4 separate regions of the Homo sapiens genome follow, and regions 2, 3 and 4 are each linked to region 1. The links are contacts of gene promoters, found by promoter capture Hi-C in blood cells and fetal thymus (Javierre and others, 2016). All regions are on one chromosome and are shown on one strand. Each heading gives the region's core, a stretch centred on a gene start or on the middle of the fragment in contact. The rest is flanking DNA. Distances are from core to core; before and after follow the strand shown.

Evidence for each region. The method cuts DNA at HindIII sites, captures the fragments that hold promoters and counts their contacts. A CHiCAGO score of 5 or more calls a contact.
Region 2: a fragment that was not itself captured here is called in contact with the fragment with the promoter of RNF103 in region 1 in 2 of 17 cell types (neutrophils and naive CD8 T cells); the score reaches 7.5 in neutrophils.
Region 3: a contact is called between a fragment that was not itself captured here and the fragment with the promoter of RNF103 in region 1, in 1 of 17 cell types (erythroblasts). The highest score is 5.2, in erythroblasts.
Region 4: a contact is called between a fragment that was not itself captured here and the fragment with the promoter of RNF103 in region 1, in 2 of 17 cell types (M1 macrophages and M2 macrophages). The highest score is 8.0, in M1 macrophages.

What each region holds. Positions count from the first base shown.
Region 1 is chr2:86,622,331-86,625,930 of GRCh38, reverse strand. RNF103 (ring finger protein 103) reads left to right here and starts at 2,066. Exons shown (of 4, transcript NM_005667.4): 1 at 2,066-3,270. The coding sequence starts at 3,045. The region is part of intron 2 of RNF103-CHMP3 (RNF103-CHMP3 readthrough); the gene reads left to right. RefSeq lists silencers at 1,876-2,045, 2,126-2,665, 2,936-3,015, 3,196-3,245 and an enhancer at 1,871-2,165. The HindIII fragment of the contact is 8,880 bases long and covers 1-3,058 here.
Region 2 is chr2:86,459,428-86,463,027 of GRCh38, reverse strand. The region is part of intron 8 of KDM3A (lysine demethylase 3A); the gene reads right to left. Among named protein-coding and RNA genes, the nearest start is that of KDM3A, 20 kb to the right of the region's middle. The HindIII fragment of the contact is 5,511 bases long and covers 1-3,600 here.
Region 3 is chr2:86,776,416-86,780,015 of GRCh38, reverse strand. RMND5A (required for meiotic nuclear division 5 homolog A) reads right to left here. Exons shown (of 9, transcript NM_022780.4): 9 at 1,975-3,600. Among named protein-coding and RNA genes, the nearest start is that of CD8A, 13 kb to the left of the region's middle. The HindIII fragment of the contact is 2,601 bases long and covers 429-3,029 here.
Region 4 is chr2:86,757,968-86,761,567 of GRCh38, reverse strand. All of the region lies in intron 4 of RMND5A (required for meiotic nuclear division 5 homolog A), which reads right to left. Among named protein-coding and RNA genes, the nearest start is that of CD8A, 31 kb to the left of the region's middle. The HindIII fragment of the contact is 3,704 bases long and covers 1-3,600 here.

The sequences.
Region 1 (3,600 bases), core at 817-3,316:
TCCAATTATTCCTCAAGATAAATTTCCTGAAGAGAGATTACTGTGCCAAAGAGCTTGTATTTTATGGGGGGCTTCTAACCCACATTGTATACCCCACCAACATAGAATGTGCTTGTCCATACTCTCTTATTCAGATGACCCAATGTGTTCTCTTATCAATGCTTTTATCCCTCCTGTGGGTTAACCATGAATGAAACAAAGCAAGGGGGTTGGGATGGGAGGCAGTTGAAACAAACAAGAAATTTAAAAAGAGTTCTTTAATTCCTTCTTTCTAGTCCCTCCCACACTCTAATGTTTTTTTCCAATTTGGAACTCTGGCCTGACTGGTTCCACCCTCAGCTCACACACCAACTTTCCCTGCCCATGCCTATTCTGTATTTTTGAGATTGGGTCAGTCTCTCCTCACTAGCGAGTACATACATTCCTTTGAGGTGAGGGACATCACCTTCAGTGTCAAGGTTTGGACAATATCATCAAAGGGTCACCAAGACATGCCCAAGAATTCTGAAATTTCAGAACCAGGCTTGTTAGAATCAGTTGTTTAACACAGTCTCCCACACTGATCTGCCAGCCACGAGAACAAAGCCACATGGAAGCTAAAGACACAGGGGCAGTGTCCAGTTGCTGGCTGGACATTCCTACACCTCCTCCTCTGATTCTCAATGCTCCCTGGGCCCATCCCCTTCCAACTCCTCCCCCACTAGCCCGGCACTGAAATGCCCTTGTTCACTTTATTTTAAATGGGCACCATTCGGAGGCTACATTCTCACAGTCCATTCTTTGCTTCCCGTTCCTCCCTTGCTCCATGACCTGGGATCATGATCCCTTTCTTCCTAAAACTTTCACCCCTAGTTTCAGATAGTTGACAGTTTTGCACAAATAGTAACATTTCCCCGTAATTACTGTTTTTTTTTTCCTTCCTTATCAAAAGGGGCTGGTCAAAGCCAACCTTGTTCAGTTTATGAACCCAACTCCTTCCTCCCTCAAGACTGACACAGAGATTGACGTAAAGAGTACGCTCGGCCCGGTTAAATTTATAAGCACAGAACCAGGTATCGCATGCTTGTCCATGTGACTCTTTTTTTTCTTTTCTTTCTTTCTTTTTTTTTTTTTTTTTTTTTTTTTTTTTTTGAGACGGAGTCTTGCTATGTCACCCAGGCTGGATGGAGTGCAGTGGCGCGATCTCAGCTCCCTACAAGCTCCGCCTCCCGGGTTCACGCCATTCTCCTGCCTTAGCCTCCCGAGTAGCTGGGACTACAGGGGCCCACCACCACGCCGGCCTAATTTTTTGTATTTTTAATAGAGGCAGGGTTTCACCGTGTTAACCAGGATGGTCTCGAACTCCTGACCTCGTGATCTGCCCGCCTCGGCCTCCCAAAGTGCTGGGATTACAGGCGTGAGCCACTGTGCCAGGCCCATGTACAAAATAAAGCACCCGGAACTTTGCACCTGGACTTATCTACACTCGACAATCTTTGTCCTAGGAACTCAGGGAGTCCACACCAGGCTTTTAACACCCTTGAGACTGAAGGAGGGAAAAGGCTGTAACTGGCAGCGACAACTGGGCCTAGTATAACGCGAACTCCAGTTTTGGCCAAACCTCCTCCAACACACATGTGCAAAGCCACATTCTCATGAAGAGGGGGCAAAACATTTGCTTTCTGGGTTTAACCTTCTACCATCTCAAACCAACTGTGCCAAAAATTTCCCTGTTCACCAGGATTCATCAAAAAACGTACATTTCTATTTTCACCGATTTTAAGAGAATAATTAACTGCTCTATTTTTACAAAAAATACACAAAGTGATACAATCTAAAGACTAATCCTCAGACAAAATCAATTGCTAAACATTGGAGGGGCAAAAGGGGAGACCACGCCGCAAAAGCACGGAGAGGCAACTTTCGGCACCGCGGGAAGGCCCCGACCACGCTGCGGCTCCGCCTCTCCTCCCGCCCCTCGTTCGGTAGTCCGGTAGCCCCGCGGCTCCCCGAATTCCCCGCCCTCGGCCCCTGCGGGCGCACCCTGCAGGCCCCGCCCCGGCCCCGCCTCATCGCGACGTCAGTTGTTATGTCTCGGCTCCGGCCGCGGCCGCCGCTGATACACGGTTGTGGAGGGTACGGCCGCGGTCTCCGGAGGTGGCGGGGGTGTTGGGGACGGGTGCTGCGACCGGCACTGCCCATCCGAGCGGGACGGGCGCTGAGTGGCCGGGAGGCAGCCGGGTAGCCGCCTGGAGGAGCAGTCTCGGGGCCTATTATTGGTTTTTTCCCTCCGAGACCGATTCCATCTGCAGAGACCGCGACGCCCCATCCTGGGCCGGGCCGCAGTGCCCGCCCGCCTGAGAGGCGCCGCCCGCCAGCCGGCCCGAGCGAACCTGGAGCCGCCGCCGTGCCCGCCGCTCTTCTCGCGGAGCCTGGGCGGTCGGCGGGGCCTGGGGCCTGGGCTTCGGGCGCGGCGTTGCGGCGGCCGCTCCTCCCCGCGCAGAACACGCTGGGCCCCGGGCCTGGCCCGGCCGAGCGCCGCGCCCTCCTGACCCGCGGCCGCGGGAGTCCGGCCCCCACGGCCCCTCGGGCCCCGGCCTGCCGCCCGGATCCCCGCCTCCTGGGCGGATCTGAGTTATTTTTTGGTCTCCCCCTCCCCCTTGAGATCGCGGCACCGGAGGGCCGACCCCGCCACCTGGGTCAGTGCCCGCCCCGGGGGAAGCGTCCCTCGTTTTGTTCTTCCCCGCGAGCTCTCCCCGCGCCCCTCTCCTTTCTGTGCTTAATGGATGGGGGTTTTGAGTTTTTCCCCTTTATTTTTGTCGGCTCTTGACTGGGAGGCCCGGCGCGAGGCTCTGCGTCTCTGCGTCCCTCGTCGCCGCCTCGCGCCCGCGCGGATCCCGTCACCTGCTTCCCCGCCGGGGATGGCCGGCCAGTGACGGCGCCGGGTGGCCCGCGCGTGGACACGGGGCCCTCGCCCAAGCTGCCACCGAGCCGCGGCCCCCGCCCTCGACCCTTCTCTCTCCCGTATTCCGAGCTCTCTGGAAAGAGAGGAAACTCCAGGGAAGATGTGGCTGAAGCTTTTTTTCTTGCTCCTCTATTTCCTGGTCCTGTTCGTCCTGGCCAGGTTTTTTGAGGCCATTGTGTGGTATGAAACTGGCATCTTTGCCACCCAGCTGGTGGATCCGGTGGCGCTGAGCTTCAAGAAGCTGAAGACCATTTTGGAGTGCCGGGGGTTGGGCTACTCAGGGTTGCCCGAGAAGAAGGATGTCCGGGAGCTGGTGGAAAAGTCAGGCGAGTATCGGGCTTCCCCTAGGGTCCCCTCCACCTGGGAGAGGGGACGACCTGTACCTCCTGGTACCTGGCTGTTCCCCCAGAGTGAGGCCTTTCCTGGAAGCGTTAAAGCTGCCCAGGTTTCTTCGTCCAAGCTTCCTACAATCAAGTATGCGGATCCCAGCTTTGAGGAGGAGTCTGAAATTATTTGGAGGAGTGTTGGTGTATCCTTTTAAGGTTATCGTAAAATGACAGTTTAAAGTGTGGCTTCTTAGCGTTGTTTACTAAGTTGAGTGATTTTCTCAAAATTCTGGAATATCAACTAGTTACAAACTGGAAAGCATTATTTGT
Region 2 (3,600 bases), core at 717-3,216, 160 kb after region 1:
CCTCTGCCTCCAGGGTTCTAGCAATTCTCAGGGCTCAGCCTCCCGAGTAGCTGGGATTACAGGCATGTACCACCATGCTCGGCTAGTTTTTCGTGTTTTTAGTAGAGACAGGATTTTGCTATGTTAAGGCTGGTGTCCAACTCTTGGCCTCAAGTAATCTGCCTGCCTTGGCCTCCTAAAGTGCTGGGATTACAGGCATGAGCCACTGTGCCTGGCCAGCAGGTTTTTAAAACCTGACAATTTCGAATATATTTATATGTACTCTACTCATGAATGCTTTTCTCAGAAATTTACTTGACAGCCTTGAAAAGACTAGCTAGCATATACAGATATATCTGAAAAATAAGAATTTAATCACTGGCAAAGTTTTGGCATAGTTTCAACTATTTTTAGGCACTAAATTATCTGATCATATATTACACTATTTCAGTCAACTCAATTTTGGTTAAATAGTACCTTAATGTTCTCCAGAAGGTGTGATGGTTGGTTTTGGGTGTTTTTTGAGTTTCCTAATCCTTTAAATGAGGAAATTTGTTTATTCCTAAAGTCCCTTTTGCTTGTAATAGTTTGCAATTCCCTGTTAATCTGAGGTTAGTCTCCCAAAGTTTAATGCTAAATCATTTTGAAATGCTTATTCAAGGCTCAATTTTACCAATTATCTTTCCTCATATTGGTCACCTTCCTTATTCTGAATATGTTTAGAATTGATGCACTAATACCTTTCCTCACTCTCCCAAGAGCAACATACTTAAGAAATTTGGATTATAAACCTAAGCATAAATTTTTACTCTGTATAAAATCAAGCCGCTCAAGTTAAAAAAAAAAACCCTCCATCTAATTTCCCATATGTAATCAATAAACCAATAAATCTTGCCTCTATTTGCAAAGTATGTATTGAATCTACCCATTTCTTTTCATGTCACTACTACTACCATCTTTCCCCTAAGCTACACATGTCCTAACCAACCTTCCTTCCATTCTTGTTGAATCCTCTGCATCCTACCCAAGATCTCTTCTACCACAGAGCAATCTCTATAAAACATAAATCAAATAAGATCACGGCAGTCCACTGCCTACAAGAATCCCATGTGGTCCAGTCTCCTTACCACTCCTGCTCCTCCTCCCCCCATCTCTTTCACTGCCCCGCTTGCTCACAGTACTCCAACTACACTTGCTTCCTTTCTCATCTCCTAGTGTTCTAAGCCCTTTCTTGCCTGGGCCTTTGTACTTGTTATCTCTCTGGCTACATCGTTTTCAGTGGCTGGTTGGTTCTCTCTGTTCACCCTCAAGTCTGTTAATATGTCACACTCTCAGAATTTCTGATTACTCTTTCTGAAGTAGCATCCCAAAAGCCGTCCCTTACTCTTTATCATTTTTCTGTTTATACCTTTCATAGCCCTTATCACACCATGAAAGTACCTTTCACTTATTCACTGTCAGTCTCCTCACAATGGGACACACACTGTTTATGGGCAGAGGCCCTGCTGTTGCGCCCACTGTTATAACCTCATAAAACCAAACATACAGTGGATGCTCAATAAATAAGACTGGTGGAATGAACATACCAAGGAGTGAATGCTGTTAGCATGTAACATTTCTAAATAGCTATAAATCAATAAGTCTTATGAGTTACCTGAAGTGACAGGAAGTGATGATCACCACTGTAGATCAGTCTAGCATACACTAAATATGCAATAAATACTTGTTGGAAGGAGGGATGGAGGAACAGAGGGAAGGAGGGAAGAAAGGAGAAATCTGCTATTTTTACAAGGGTGATTCACCACACCAAGGAGAAGATTTGGAGAGCAGTGGCAACAGCACAGTGATGAAGAGTACTGGATTTTGGTGTTAGCCTTTGGTTTGAAATTCAGTCTCTAACACTTCCTAGCACTTTCTTCCCATGAAGTATACTTTACAGGGCTGTGCTTTTACCATAGTGCCTGGCGCTGAAATCAATTTTAGAGATGAGCTGTCTTAAAGCAGAAAAACATTGCGAAAATTTTCTCAATTCTGTCACCGTGTGTTAGAATTAGCACAACTTAGCGTGCTTTTCCTTTAAGAAACTCAAGTATTTCCTTCTACAACTTTCCTAAGGTTTAGCTCAACAGGAACAGGACTCCAATTCCCAAACCCATGTTCACGAGTGCACCTCCGCACTGGCCTCTGACTCAACAAAGGGTCAAAGTTTCTTCTTACCTGAAGAGTTTTCCCTGAAGGTCTTCTATACCAGTCATGGCAATAGTTCCTCCCTGCCAGCAGACGGAGATAATATAATTGAGTGTATGATAGAATTCTAAAAAGGACACTGCCGGCTCACATTCCTCAGCAGACTCTTTCCCAACTAACCAGGCAACGTCGTAACTCTGAGGAATAGTCTGCTAGGCAGAGAAGACCTTCAAGGAGCCAGGTATCACTGGCAAACAGGTTTATCTTAACCAAAAGTATTCATCAAGACAGTCAAGAGTCTTGCCTACTAGTCCCAAATGCCTGTCTTCTAAAGACCACCCTAAAAGTGCCAGTCCAACACATCTGGGAAGTGCAAACACAGTGAGAATCGTGCTGAGTGCATTACTGTACTCACCTTTCACTCATACATTTTCAAAAACTTTCTTTCCCCACTGCTCCCTTTATCTCTCCAGCCCTCCTGAAATCTAGGCCAGGCCAGTGTATCCAAAACTTGTCTGACTACAAGAATCACCCAGAACGAAAGACATTTACCGATATGGAATAATAGTTATAATACATTGCAAGGGAATCAAGGAGGCTACAAGAGTATGGTTTTTAGTTTTAAAAAACTAACAAAAAAAATCAGGTCTCTGTGATAAATACAGGGGGAGAAGAGACAGAAGGAAAGTATTTCCTTACATTACATTTGAAGTATTTCAAAATGTAAACAGAGAGTCTCTGAGAAGTATGATTACAAGTGATGATTCTATTCTTTACTATACTTTTCTAGGTTAACCAAAAATTTTCAAATGAGATGAGCTTCACAATCAAAAAAATATTTTCAAGAACTTCTGAAACCCAGGTAAAAATCCACCTTCGACTTCCTTTAGAATGACGTGACTAGCATAGAGCTCAAGAGCTGCAATGTACATTTTTAAAACACTTAATTTAGTTTATCATATTAGATGCAGAAGTTAAGAAACTTATCTCCAGGCTGAAGTGCAGGCTTATTTTTTTAATAGCTTCTAATGTGCCCAACAATCAGCTCAATAGCACACATAGTATGGGCAACATGCTGAGAAAGATAAAAAAGTAATGCTTCTGGCCTTGCAAGAATTTGAATCAAGGAGACAGGATCATATCATATATGTCTATATGCCCACATTTTACAAGTACCTCCTTGAAGGTTAGAAATTTACTTGCTCAAACACCTTTCTCATTGCTGACACACTCAACATTCTGAAGGCACCTTCCCCCAAGGGAGGTTCCCACTGACCTCAGTTCTGCTTGCACCCCAGATTGATCGCTCCACCATCCAACAGGATACGTCATTCCTATTCCCAACCCTTCTTCCTCAGCAAGTCTCACAGCTCAGCTCTCCTCTTCATCATACTCCCAATTTACACTGACACATTCCCCATGACAGGCAACACA
Region 3 (3,600 bases), core at 480-2,979, 150 kb before region 1:
TGTACTTTTCTAAGCTGAAAGGAAGTATAGCTAAGTAAATGCAACATTGCCTGGCACACAGGAGAGCTCAGTAATTAGTAGCTCTGGATTATACAAGCCTTCTAACATTGAATGTATCGCCACATTTGCTAGCATAGGAGGCTCACACAAGGGTATGAAACACCCTACAAGGAAAGTGTTTTTTTTTTTTAAGTACTTTCTATCACAGATATATTGACAGATTTCAAAGAAGTTTGGTAGGTAAGTGGACCACTGCATCATTGTCCCGTCATGCAAGGTTGTAAAAACTGGCTCATTAGCAGGTCACAAAATCAAATCAGTCTTGGTGAGCATTAAAAATAAAATCACACATTTGTAGCACTAAATATTGTTTTGTAAAATATTTCAGAATTCTAAATTTTGTGTACACAGGGTTATGCTATTAAGCTTCTTACTGGGTGCTGAAGGAAAAAGAAAAGTTAAGAAAGCCTATTTTCTGCTGGGATATTGTTTATTATCAAGTTTCTCTGCTGGGGGGTAAGAAGCATCAAGCTGTTTTGTTTAAGGATGCATTTTTAGTCCTTATTTTGTCATTATGAAAATTATTTTTCATCTTTGACACTCACCTTCCCCATTTTGGTGGAGGGGGTGGAAAATGCTTTTTACCATACTGCAAATACAGTACTCCCTCAATTACCTAGATGCTTAAAGAAATACACTGATTTTTAAAATAACTAGAGTTCAAAGCACACTAAATTTAAATTTTCTTGATGACTAACAGATTTACCCTTAGTCCTCAAGGGTAAATTCTGTTCAGTACGTGTGATCTTGACCTGCCACATTTAAGAGGGAGGATACTTCCTGAAATAGGAAGCATCCAGGACACTCCTTATAAGGGAAGCCCGTTTTCTCATGACCATGCAGACTTTGGTTCAGCAGGGTTGAGCTGAGGCCTGAGATTCTGCATTTCTCACAGGCTCCCAGGTGATGCTGATGCTGCTGGTCCATGGACCACACTTTGAGTCCTGAGGAGCCCAAATGCTGGAGGGAAAGGTGGTGAGACCTTGGCCTGGCCTGCCAGGCCTCTTCTATACTACCTGGGCCACTAGCTCCAACCTGACTGGATGGGACCACAAGGGTTTCCATAGGTAAGAAACATTCTAAAATCTCAGGTAACACTAAGTCTTTCTCTTAAAAAATATACAAAAGGAGTACAAATAAGTGCTTGGTCTCTACAACCTTGGCCTGCCATGGAGGACAAGGCAATTCAGTTTCTGGTCTTCCCTGGTAATGCTGACAGCACAAGTTCTACCCCCTCCAGCAGCCTGGACATCGAGCTGTTTCCGGGCTCCACTTTACCAATCATACACTCACTGCCACTCTGGTCAGTACACAGGGCAGGGTCCCCGCTGTGCACAGGAGGGGCGAGAGGGGGCAGCAGCCTGGAAACATTAAAACAATCCCCTACTCAGAAACTCGGGACTCAGCCAGGTGCAGTGGCTCACGCCTGTAATCCCAGCACTTTGGGAGGCTGAGGTGGGCAGATCACTTGAGGGTCAGGAGTTCGAGACCAGCCTGGCCAACATGGTGAAACACTGTCTACTAAAAATAAAAAAAAATTAGCTGGGCATGGTGGCACATGCCTGTAATCCCAGCTACCCGGGAGGCTGAGGCACGAGAATCGCTTGGACCCAGGAGGTGGAGGTTGCAGTGAGCCGAGATTGGGCTACTGCACTCCAGCCCAGGCAACAGAGTGAGAGTCTGTCTCAAAACAACAACAAAAAACAACTCGGGACACTGCTCAGTCACCTTCTCTTCTCACTGTTGGTGGCACAGAAACACAGTAAGATGGGGACAGATATTTTCTTAAATTCTTGACATGCAGACCCTTAGCAAATACAGACAGCAATTTTCTCTTCTCACAGTCAGCACCTCCCTACTCCCTCCCTCATACCTTTGTCACCTGGCACATTTATACAGACTGGTTCCACAAAACACTTTTTAAATGTGCATTTCTTTAATTTTTAAAAATATACACAGGAAAAGCCATGTGTTTTACATAGGAATACACACATTAACAAAGCATTTCTTATAGTTTTCCAAAACTCTATTATATCAGTCCGAAATTTATAAATTAAATATATCAGAATTCTTAAAGTTAAAATGAATTCCCTGAAACTACTGGATATGCTACTTTTTCCAAAATCAAATGAACAGAGGATATGGATGTGGTTTGTGTTAAATAAGGTTTATTGTTAGCTTTATTGCCTATAGTCTATAAGATGCAACTTTACTGTGCCTTTGCAAACAGGATACATTTCTTAAAAAATTGATCAAAATTTTCCATACATATAGCTCTATATGATAGATTACAGTGCAACACTATTCTCGTTACATAATTATAGAAATACTATAGAACCCAAGAGCACGGGGTAAGCAAAATAAATACAATCCTGAGCCATCTGAACAAGATGATTTGATGAATCCTTTAGTGTAAGTTTAGAAAACACAGAGAAGGAAAAAAATACATGCATACTGCAGTCATGAGCAAAATACATCAAACACCTGTTCCTTGCTAGGTGCAGGTGGGGGCAATGGTGAACTTCAGACACATGCACACTCACTCACACTCCCATTTTCTTCTGCTTCCCTCCCAGCCCCAACACATTCATTCCCGCCCCTTCCCAAAAAAAAGATCAGGCACTAAATCCTAGTGAACCCCACAACTGCCTTGCTGGAGAAGGTTAAGTGACTGCTAAAGTAAGAGTGTATGTAGGTCCTCACCCATAACATGAAACAAAGCATGTGCTGTAAGCCAATTCCAGCTGCTTTTGCCTCTTTGGAAGTAAATGAAGCATATGCCCACTACAGCTTGAAACTGCAGTGGAAATGTCTTGAAAACAAAATTTTGTTTCTCTTGCTATGTCTTGAAGTAAAATCAACAGTGGAAAATTCATCCTAAAACTGCCTCATCTGCTATTAAAATACATTTGTCATTCTATTTTTGGTATCTATTCAATTATAGTTCATTAAGAACGGTTCATGAAGCTTGTACCTGCTTATGGTAAACATCAGTGTACCACACAAAACCTGCCACACCTAGACAGGCTTATGAAACACCAAATCTTCTATGTGTTCCTTGCTAACATTCCCTCAAGACCACAGCATTCTAGTGTTACCAGAGATAAAGTACGTATAGTTAAGTGATGAAAGAAAGGTATTTGGTTTGTGTCGTCACCTTATACATCCTAGTGATGAAACTAACCAAACTATGCCTCCATGCCTTCCCTGAAAATAACCTGAGTCGGCTGACGAAACAGACTGAGCAGCGTGGCTCTCAGTCCACTTTATCAGAGGTTGAGCTGGAAAACCAGAGGGCTAATGTAGTCTACCAGCAGCTTGTGCGGATAACCAAGAGTTCTTGGCTGTTGCAGTATCCACTGTCCCAAAGGCTAAGCCACTGAGGTGGAAATCAATCGCAGCATAAAGAAGACTGAACTTAAGCTGCATAACCTGCGAGACTACCTGGAGAGGACAAAAGAGGATCAGGATCCTCATTTCCCACAAAATGTGGTGTGGGTTTTAGTGTCTCTATGCATTAGCTGCTACAGAGAAGTTAAC
Region 4 (3,600 bases), core at 584-3,083, 140 kb before region 1:
GTCATTTTCTAAACCAAGGATGAGATACCCCACTTTTAACTCTCCCAAACATTGAAGCACATGTAAGCAATTAAGGTGAAATCCTCACCTGACATGATAGGACCTCTCTCTTATACCTCCAGGATTGTACCCAGAAACCCACATTTGTATTTTCTTGACCTCAATTCCCTGGCCACAGTTAACTGGCCAAATAAGCATAGGTTTTATTCAAAGTCACTCTCCGCAGCTGCCTCCTAATAAGAAAGTCAATCTATTTTTAACTCTATTCACTATTCTTCACTATTCTATGCCTCTTGCTAAGCTCTGGTATCAAGAGTTGCCTTCTGTGATGATCATTGTTAACATCCGCCTTAATGAATCCTTGACATCTGAGTACAAATTTCACAGCAGCATCCTTACTCACAATAGCAGCTTCCTCAGATAGCTTTAGTCAATTCACAACTTCTGAACATGATAAAAGCATCTTTTACTGGCTGTGAAGTTCTTCAATATCCTTGTAATTACCATCTTCTTTCAATAAGGCAACTATTATCAATTTGGCCCGAATAGTAGCCAAACTGATTCACACACACACACACACACACACACACACACACACACACTTCTCTCTCTCAATCCAAAGTAGAAGTAAATGTTCCATCTAAACCACAAGCATCTTTCTATTCTAGTGCAATATAAGTGAAAAGATGGTGAAGTGACTTTACCCTCGTCTTTATAGTGACAGGACTTTTCCAATATGCTTTGTACCATTAGCTTCCTGTAGGCTTAGGTCTTGCCCTAGCTTCATCTTGCTGTTGTCCTTTTTCAAATCTTTCTAATCACATTCAATTTCACTTCTAGAGGTTTTTCTTGTTGCCAAGTCCGTCTTCCAATTATCCATTTTTGTAAAATGTCACGTGGGTTTATCCCTGGGAGTTAAAGAGGTGACACAACCCACACAGCTGTTGCCTGAGAGTAACTGACAGTAGATGTGCAGTGATCAAGAGCGAAGTGACAAAACTGGTCATGACCATGATGCTCCTGTTATGTCCAGATGTGTAGACTGAAGAGCTGGCAGAGAAGTCTGTATTTTATACAATTGCTCACAGTTAATACATCATGGTGACTGAAATCTGAACTGTGTTGTTGGCAGCCAGGTGTTATTTAACTAAACTGTGGTAAAAACGAATTTATGTATGTTAGAAACCTGCAAAGACTGCCCATAGGTTCAATAAAGAATACAAGGGCTGGGTGCAGTGGCTTAGGCCTGTAATCCCAGCACTTTGGGAGGCCGAGGTGGGTGGACCACCTGATGCTGGGAGTTTGAGGCCAGCCTGATGAACATGGAGAAACCCCATCTCTACTGAAAATACAAAATTAGTCGGGTGTGGTGGCGCATGCCTGTAATCCCAGCTACTCAGGAGGCTGAGGCAGGAGAATCGCTTGAACTCGGGAGGCAGAGGTTGTGGTGAGCCAAGATTGCGCCATTGCACTCCAGCCTGGGCAACAAGAGTGAAACTCCGTCTCAAAAAAAAAAGAATACAAACAGGAGAGAAAGGACACAGAGATCTCAGTGGTAAGAGGTTACTTTATAAAGACAAAGAAGTTCCAGACTGATATAATGAGGAAAGACATAAAGTTTGAGAACCTGAGCAAGTCAGGGTGTCTGTGGCCCATTCTCATAAATCTTAAAGAATTACAAAGAAAACGAAATTCGTTTTCTATTTCTCACTAAAATGATTCCTGCCCCTGCCCCTCCCCCTTCCTTCCTCCCCACGTTTTTGTTTTTGAGACAGAGTCTCATTCTGTTGCCCAGGCTGGAGTACAGTGGCGTGATCTCGGCTCACTGCAACCTCTGCCTCCCGGGTTCAAGTGATTCTTGTGCCTCAGCCTCCCGAGTAGCTGGGGTTACAGGTGCTCACCACCGCGCCTGGCAAATTTTGTATTTTTAGTAGAGATGGTGGGGGGCGGGGGGGCAAGCAAACTAAAAATGCAGTGAAATTATTAACTCTATAATTTTTTTAAAAAAATTCTGATCCCAAATTTCCAGCGTGGACCACGAGAACACTGTCACCTTTGGAATTACTCCATTTAGAGAAACACTGAACCCCAAAAATGACAGTAAGATCAACAGTGTTACACTGATCTCTGCCACTACATTCTTCTGATGAAGAGCCTTTTGGGGCCTTTCCACCAACAAACCCCAAAACAATATTACTTATGAGAAGACTAAGTTAGAAGCAATCCACATCTATACAATTACCCAGCAGAAACATTAGCATTAATTATCTTAATTGTCAGGCCTGTGAAAAGACTTGGCACACAGTTACCTCCATATTTAGAATTTCTACATCATTCCAAAAATAAATACAAGATTTCACCTTCATAGTTAGCGGTTCTCCCTCAGGAACCTAACAGACAGCATTAGTGGGCTTATCTCTCTAATCTTACAATTTTGCCAGCCTGGGTGGGTGTCTATTTCTAGTAATACTAGGGAAAAAAAGCCTCTTGCCAATCCCACAGCACATTCCACTGTAACCTTTCACAGCATTTAAAGGCTTACAAAAACCTCTTTTTCTAATTTCCTTTAAGGCTATACTCTTGGGGGTAAAAGCTGAAGTTCAGGGGAATGAATGACATTGATTTTTACTCCACAGGTGTGGACCTGGTGAAATGTCCTTAGTAACATGAATCAAATGCTTAAAAAAATTCAGAGAATGGCAAACCTGACAAAAAGTTCAGTCAAAAAAGTGAGGAACTCTGTAACTTTGCTTTAGAGACTGAAAAGAACACTCAGTGTTTCATTTCTTAGATATTTTCAAATGGTAATTTTTCAGCTATGGGCTGAGTCCACTGCTGGAACTACTACCATTAAACTCATCTCAGAGTTGGTGTGAGTCTCTGTCCTTTTCACATGCTATTTAAGAAACCACACAAACTATGGTATTGCATATCTGACTCTATTTAAGACACACACACACACCCTTTTACATGAGGTTCTCAGTAATGCAGAGATTAGTAAGAGCTACACATAGGAGTGGTCACCATATTGGACAACATATCTAGCAGGCATGCTCAAAATAATGTGCAACGGATATTCAATGCTGCATCACTTATAAAGCAAAATATCGGAAACTACAAACGTCCATCCATAGGAACTGGCTAAATAAAATTAAGGTATAATCCCTAAAAGAGAACACTAAGCAGCCACCAAAAAAAAAAAATAGTTCTATATGCTCTGATATAGGCAAATACTTCAAAATTTTTCAAGTAAAAAGCAGAACACTGTGTATAGTATGCAACCACTTGTGCATAAAAATGTACGTATACATAATACAGTTAATGGTGGCTGCCTGTTTGGAGAGTAACTGTGATTAGAAGGCAAAGGTGGGGAGATTTACTTTTCACTGTATTTTTATCTTGTTGTGCCTTTTGATTTTGTACTCTTATTTATTACCTATTGGGATACTTAATGCTGACTCAAAACTCGACCAAGGCAAGCCAAGGACAATTTTGAGAAAAGGAGTCAGTGAATGAAGTCTGAACTGCCCAACGGCTCTGCAACACAACCTCCATGGTGGACATAATGGCATCAGGACATTTTAGCCTGAGAACTTTGAA